2 separate regions of the Homo sapiens genome follow, and region 2 is linked to region 1. The links are contacts of gene promoters, found by promoter capture Hi-C in human tissues and cell types (Jung and others, 2019). All regions are on one chromosome and are shown on one strand. The core of a region is centred on a gene start or on the middle of the fragment in contact, and the rest is flanking DNA. Distances in the headings are between cores, read along the strand shown.

What was found. The method cuts DNA at HindIII sites, captures the fragments that hold promoters and counts their contacts. A contact is called where the count stands out against the background at its distance.
Region 2: a contact is called between a fragment that was not itself captured here and the fragment with the promoter of IL9 in region 1, in 1 of the 25 tissues and cell types used here (mesenchymal stem cells).

What each region holds. Positions count from the first base shown.
Region 1 is chr5:135,894,068-135,897,394 of GRCh38, reverse strand. It overlaps IL9 (interleukin 9), which reads left to right and starts at 1,554. Exons shown (of 5, transcript NM_000590.2): 1 at 1,554-1,692; 2 at 1,805-1,840; 3 at 1,923-1,955; 4 at 3,244-3,327. The coding sequence starts at 1,579. It overlaps LOC124901074 (a long non-coding RNA gene), which reads right to left. Exons shown (of 3, transcript XR_007058947.1): 3 at 1,247-1,697. The HindIII fragment of the contact is 9,945 bases long and covers 1-3,327 here.
Region 2 is chr5:137,225,664-137,228,990 of GRCh38, reverse strand. The region is part of intron 3 of SPOCK1 (SPARC (osteonectin), cwcv and kazal like domains proteoglycan 1); the gene reads left to right. Among named protein-coding and RNA genes, the nearest start is that of SPOCK1, 270 kb to the left of the region's middle. The HindIII fragment of the contact is 3,405 bases long and covers 32-3,327 here.

The sequences.
Region 1 (3,327 bases), core at 305-2,804:
TGCCCACAGTTCCCCAGGCACCTCCTTAAGTGCTGAGAATATAGGGGTGAACTGGACCCATAAAGCCCTGGAGTATATATCCTGGTGGGAGAGGCAGATAAAAGATCTGCAGAAAAACAGGAGTTCAGGAGGATTAAGAGCTGAAATCAGGAGGCAGACTTCTGGGCTTGAATACAAATTCTGCGGCTTCCTGGCTTTGTGGTTTTGGGCAAATTACCTGCCTCTCTATGCCTCAGTTTCTCCATCTGTAAGATAATAAGAATAATTATAGTACTTCATAGAGTTACACTGAGATTGCTTTTTTGACTCATAGTGATTAAACACAGCCATACTGAAGGGCCAGGAAGCTAAGATGTAGACAGTGTTTTAAAGGGTAAAAAATGGTGATGACAAATTACTCCCCACCTCATTTGGCAGCCGAGTGTATTACATGGCTTAATGCATGTAAAGTACTTAGAAATGTTGCTAGTATGGTCAGGCCCAGTGGCTCATGCCTGTAATCCCAGAACTTTGGGAGGCCAAGGCGGGCGGATCACGAGGTCAGGAGTTCAAGACCAGCCTGGCCAACATAGTGAAACCTCGTCTCTACTAAAAATACAAAAAATTAGCCGGGCGTGGTGGAGGGTGCCTGTAATTCTAGCTACTCGGGAGGCTGAGGCAGGAGAATCGCTTGAACCCGGGAGGCAGAGGTTGCAGCGAACCTGGATTGTGCCACCGCACTCCAGCCTGGTGACAGAGGGAGACTCTGTCTCAAAAAAAAAAAAAAAAAAAAAAGAAATGTTACTAGTATGTAGTAAGTTCTCAGTAAATGTTAGCTACTATACTCTTTCAAGTGCTGGGTTTTTACTTGATGTCATACAGTGTTATATAAGATCTCCAAAGATACTGAGGAGTCCTCAAGGCCAATTTTAACAAGCATGGTTGCCGCATTCTTGTGCTTATAGTTGAACATTTCTTCTTTCAGACACTTGCACAAAGGGATACTTCTAAGATGCATTTGCATTAGGTGGCAAACTTCATCCTGGGTATGAAAAACATTGAGATTTGGGAATAAAGCATAGTAAGACTGAGGTTGCAATTACTAAAGGAAAACCCCAACAGAGATAAGTGAAGTTCTGCAATATCATGCACCCTCCCCCAACCCGCTCTGTCTCCCCAGGCCCCCCTTCGTTAGAACACCCATGACTGGCTATATTATATCAGCATTTCCCATAATGTAAAAAGGGAAAATACAGACCTGGGCGTTCATGGAAAGTATTCTAACTCTCACAACCAGAATCCCTGTCTTTGAATTTTTTTTCTTGGTTTTTAGATCTTTAACTTTTCCTTCAGCATTTCAGTACTCAACTTTTTGAAAATCATCTTTTCTGAGGAATGATATTTCCTGGCACAGCATCATCTCTGTCAAGTGACTCAGTTTGATTTTTTTGTTTGTTAGTATAAAGTGGCCCCAACTTACAGAGAAAAAGTGGGCTCTTGGTATCAGTTTGATGTCAGGGTTTTTCCGTGTTTGAGAGGGAGCTTTAAATACCACTCGATTTGAAGGTGTCTGCAAGCGAGCTCCAGTCCGCTGTCAAGATGCTTCTGGCCATGGTCCTTACCTCTGCCCTGCTCCTGTGCTCCGTGGCAGGCCAGGGGTGTCCAACCTTGGCGGGGATCCTGGACATCAACTTCCTCATCAACAAGATGCAGGTAGGCTGCAGGGGGAGCCCATGGGAAAGACAGCTACTGACAAAGTGAAATATGTATGAGGATGAAAAAACTCGGGGCTGACTAAAGGTTCTTATCTCTCTATCTACTTTAGGAAGATCCAGCTTCCAAGTGCCACTGCAGTGCTAATGTGAGTGAATGCTCTTTAAGAACTTTCCAAATTAATTTTAATTTTCACATCTGGAATCTTCACTCTGAAATTTCCCTTGCAGGTGACCAGTTGTCTCTGTTTGGGCATTCCCTCTGTAAGTATAGTGAAATAACATAATGTTGACCTTGGATTTTTTTGGTTTGTTTTTAAGTAAAAATAAGTTGCTTTATTTAATATTTAATGTTATACATTGTTGCTTAATTTAATTGTTACAGATTAGTATTCCCTGTTAAAACCACATTGTTACAAATTATTCCCTTTTAAAACTACGATCTTGAAATCCTATATTATGAACATTTCTTTGTATTTAATTAACTTTATGCCTCTTGAGAAGTTTGAACACTTTTCAACATTAAAAAAAGAATCCTGAATATCTTTTTAGATAGGTGGCCATGTGCACAATTAAATAAAACTGGAACTAAGGATATAATAATTGCTGTAGCTCATATCATATTGCTTTCTAACTCATTTACTGATAACTCTAGAGTTGTGAAACAATGTAAATAAAATGACAACTCCTTATCTTTCATCTGTCATGAATGATCTATGCGCTATACCTCCCCCTCCCTGCCTCCTCCCTTCCTCCCCACCACCCTGTTGTCTGTCTAGCTGATTAGAGTGACTGTTGGTTTGAATGCTGCCCTCTGGGCAGGTAGAGGATCTGAGGTTGTGAGTGGAAGGAGGGCTTCCAGAGGGCCACTGCCCACTACGGCAGGAAGGATGGGTGGCAGGAAAGTTCTGATTCCTAATTCAAACTCCTGGTTAGGGTGAGGAGGAGGCACTTCTCCAAGGTGCAGTGCTTTATTCTTTCTCATGCAAGGCCTGGGAGAATCTGAAGAATCTGAGCTTCTTGCCCTGGCTAGGGTAAGACATCGCACCCATCGCGGTCCATCCATTAGATGAGAAGAGGATAGAGTGCCTTCTGGGCAGGAACCAGGCAGACAGCACAGCCCCTGTCCCTTGGAGTACCGTCCATGTTTTTAGCTGCTGCTGAAATACCAGCTGCATTCAATTGTCACATCCCATTAGCTGGTGTGAAAAGGCTTTTCCTCACTCTGCACTTTCAGACTTACAAGCCTTGAAGCCGGGAAGCACCCGTTGAAAAGAACATTCAGAGCCGACTATTTCAGGGCCCAGAGCCCTCATGTTTCCTGGATGTAACATACAGGAAGTCTCCTCCAGGGGATGTCACTGTGGAAAAATGGCATCCCCTTTAAATACGGGAGATCACTTCCTACATTGGCAAGGGACCTGTCTAAAAATAATGCAAGTTTGAGTAATGGTGATTAAATAAAAATCATCTCTATTATATTGCTCTTTGTGATATATTTCCAAAGCTGTCCTCAGAATATTTCTTTGAATAAATCCTTACTATTTACCAGGACAACTGCACCAGACCATGCTTCAGTGAGAGACTGTCTCAGATGACCAATACCACCATGCAAACAAGATACCCACTGATTTTC
Region 2 (3,327 bases), core at 485-2,984, 1.3 Mb before region 1:
GCAGTGCGTGAGCTCGGCTGGTTACTGGAAGCCACCCAGGGTAAGTTCTAACAAATTCATGAATCAAGACCAATGCGGGATTGCAGAAGTATATTTAGATTGTTCCTAAATTCTGACATTGCTCCGAGGTAAATCCATTATCTGGGTAAGAGCTACTATGTAGTAATTAAACTGAAAATATTATATTTGTACATGCTTTCTGCCCCTCAGCAAAACATATTTAAAATATTCTTGGAGGTGATTTTTAAAATTTTGCACTTTTGTACTGCAATTCCACCTGAGTAACATTCAAGCAATATTTTGAGAAGATGATTAGGTTTTTTTTGTTTTCTTTTGTTTTTATTTTTGTTTTGAGACAGATTCTCTGTCACCCAGGCTAGTGTGCAGTGGCCCAATCTCTGCTCACTGCAACCTTGGCCTTCTGGGTTCAAGTGATTCTCATGCCTCAGCCTCGCAAGTAACTGGGACTACAGGTGCACACCACCACACCCAGCTAAATTTTTTGTATTTTTAGTAGAGATGGAGTTTCACCATGTTGGCCAGGCTGGTCTCGAATTCCTGGCCTCAAGTGATCCACCCACCTCAGCCTCCCAAAGTGCTAGCATTACAGGCATGAGCTGCTGCATCTGGCTGATGATTAGTTTTTTAAGTCTCATATTGGGTGGGTCCTGGAAAGAAGTCGTTTTGTGATTCACTTCTGTGTTCAGTCTGAAGTCTCACTTGGATGGTTAAGGCTTGCCCTGTGGCCTGGGAGCCATCTTTACAAACTGTGTACAATGACAGCCTCCTTGGTCATTCATGTTGGCTGAAGCCATCTCTGCAGTTGTACCAGCCATGTATCATGTATGAGTCCTGGGGCTTAAGTCATTCAGGGATGCTCAGATCAACTGGCATTGGTCAGAAAGCCCTGTATTCCTGTTTGCAGATAAATGAAGAGGAGAAAATGCAAAGAAAAGAAAACAGGTTTGGTTTACTCATTGTTGCATATTTGGGCTGATTAGCTTTATTAAAGAAAGGGTATTTATACTTTTTCTGCATTGGATATGGATGAGGAAATGTCCAGATCACAGAGTTTTGTGGTTCCTCTTCATAGATGTATCTGCCTCACATGAGGCCCCAAGAAATAGGACAAGAAAGATTCAGAGGAGGGAAGGGTCTAAGAGGTACAAGCTTATGGCACAAATCTGCATTGGTGGTCTGTATCTGGAGTTATTGGCACTGTTGGCTGTTCCCTTTGCTCCTACGATAACTTGCCCTCATCTTTGTTTGCAAAGCCCCAGGGTCTGATCTGAAGCTGTGACCTTTCTTCTAAGAGAGTTATTGAGTTTGGGTTATTCCCTGTTTCCTTACTCTATAGACCTTGCTGTGTAGGAAGCTTTGTTCTTTTCACCAGAGTAGAAGGCTTTTAGGCTCCTTTGCAATTCTCAATGCCTGGTAGTGAGTTGGGCAAGAGATGCCAAATGCTCAAAGACTCTTATCTGTTTCGAGCATACCAGAGCCAGAGGATTGTCAGGATTTCATGACCCTCTGATGATGATGTACTTTAAATCCTAAGTCAGTGACCAATTCTGCTCTTGCTTTCAAATTTCTTTTTTGTAAGCAGCAAAGTCTACTTTTCTTGCAAATGAACTCTCACCTAGAACGTAGTACCTCAAATGGATTAAGGTACAGTTTCTAAGACTGGCCTACTCCTTGCTTTCTACAATAGATGTTGAGGCACTTTCTTGGAACCCCAGGATTTCAGGGTCCATGCTTTGAGGAGTATTGCCATTAAGCATCCTTCTCCACTGCCTTGAAGCTAAGGGAAAAGTACTGTAGTTCACAAAAGACAGAAAGGTCCTGGAGTAGGGTCTTCTGATTCCCTGCATGCTTTGAACTTCATTTCTTGCAGCTTCTCTGGAACCCCTGTTTTGTCCCCTTGTCACAAATCCCTTGTTAGAAATCCTCAGTCAAAATTCCTCATTTTGCAGATGGATAACAGAGGAAGGCTTTGAAAGAGGGAGTTGTCAGAGCTAGCTATCCATGCATTCATTTATAAATATTTCTTGAGCACCTGTTACATCACATTTTTTATTAGGTACTTTATTAGATATGGATCTTGGCCTCACAAAGCTTATAATCTGAATACAAATAATTATCAGCAACATGATTACTATAACATGTGAGGTATAAGATACTACAGGGCACACGGTAGTTATACTTAAACTGGATAAAGGACAAGTAGAAATTAAACATCTAGAGAAAGCAGGGGAGGGCCATCTTCCACGCAGAGGGAACAACCTATGCAAAGGCCCAGAGATGGGCAAGTCCTGAGCCTACGGGTAGGGGTTCCCTAGGGTGTAGAGAGTGAGACCAGAGGAGACTGGAAGCTGTGAAAATGAAAGTCTGGTCATATGGGCCTCATCAGCCATATTGAGGGGTTTGGATCTAACCCTCAAGGAGGTAGGGGATGGTTTGAAGTGGGTAAAGCACAGTGGAGGATGAGGTGGCCTCTGTGGGGCTTCCATGGCATTAAAAACCCAGCCTGTATGCATGGCACTTTGCAATCCAGCATCACTTACTGAGAATAAATGTGGATGCCTTTGCAGCATGATGCTTCACCCCTCGGGGCAAGGAGATCAAGCCACAACGTGGGTGTTAAACAGATTAGTTTGGTCAATAGTTTAATTCTGGCAGCAGCTGAATGACATTATAAAGAATGCAGTGGCATTTCTACTGGAAATGTCTGCCATCGTTTTCTTCATGTCATGAGGAAAATAAAGGCTTCCCAACTCCAGGAATGAATTAGCATGAAAGATGCCCATCAATCTCCCTGTGAAGAATCACTGTGCTGCAGAATTGCTTTAACACAGAGGAGGAAGAGATGATAATTGAGCAGGATGGTGTGCAGCCCACTGATAGTCTTGTGTCAAAAACCCCATCTCTTTTCAGGATTTAGGTTGGGTCTGGATGTCCCTGTTGAGCTGTGGCCTTGGGTCAGCCCAACAGTCCAAGATCCAGGAGCCTGGTGAGGCGTGCTCCAAGTGGGAAGAAGGCTGCCCGCACCATTTCTGGTGCTCTCTGGGGGGAGACCTAGTGTCCTTGAGGGCTAGACTTCTTTTGGTTCTGAGCTTCTCACAAAAGGCTTTTGTTTCCACATATTCCTTTCTCAGTTCTTGAAGTTGGCTTGTCTTTCTCCTTTCTTTGGCACAGTTGTCCTCAAAATGTGATCCCTGTACCAGCAGTATTAGACATGCAAATTTTGCAGCTCCACCTTAGACATGCTGAATCAGTACTTCTGATGATAGAGCCAGAAACCTGTGTTTTCCCAAGCCTTCCAGGTGATTC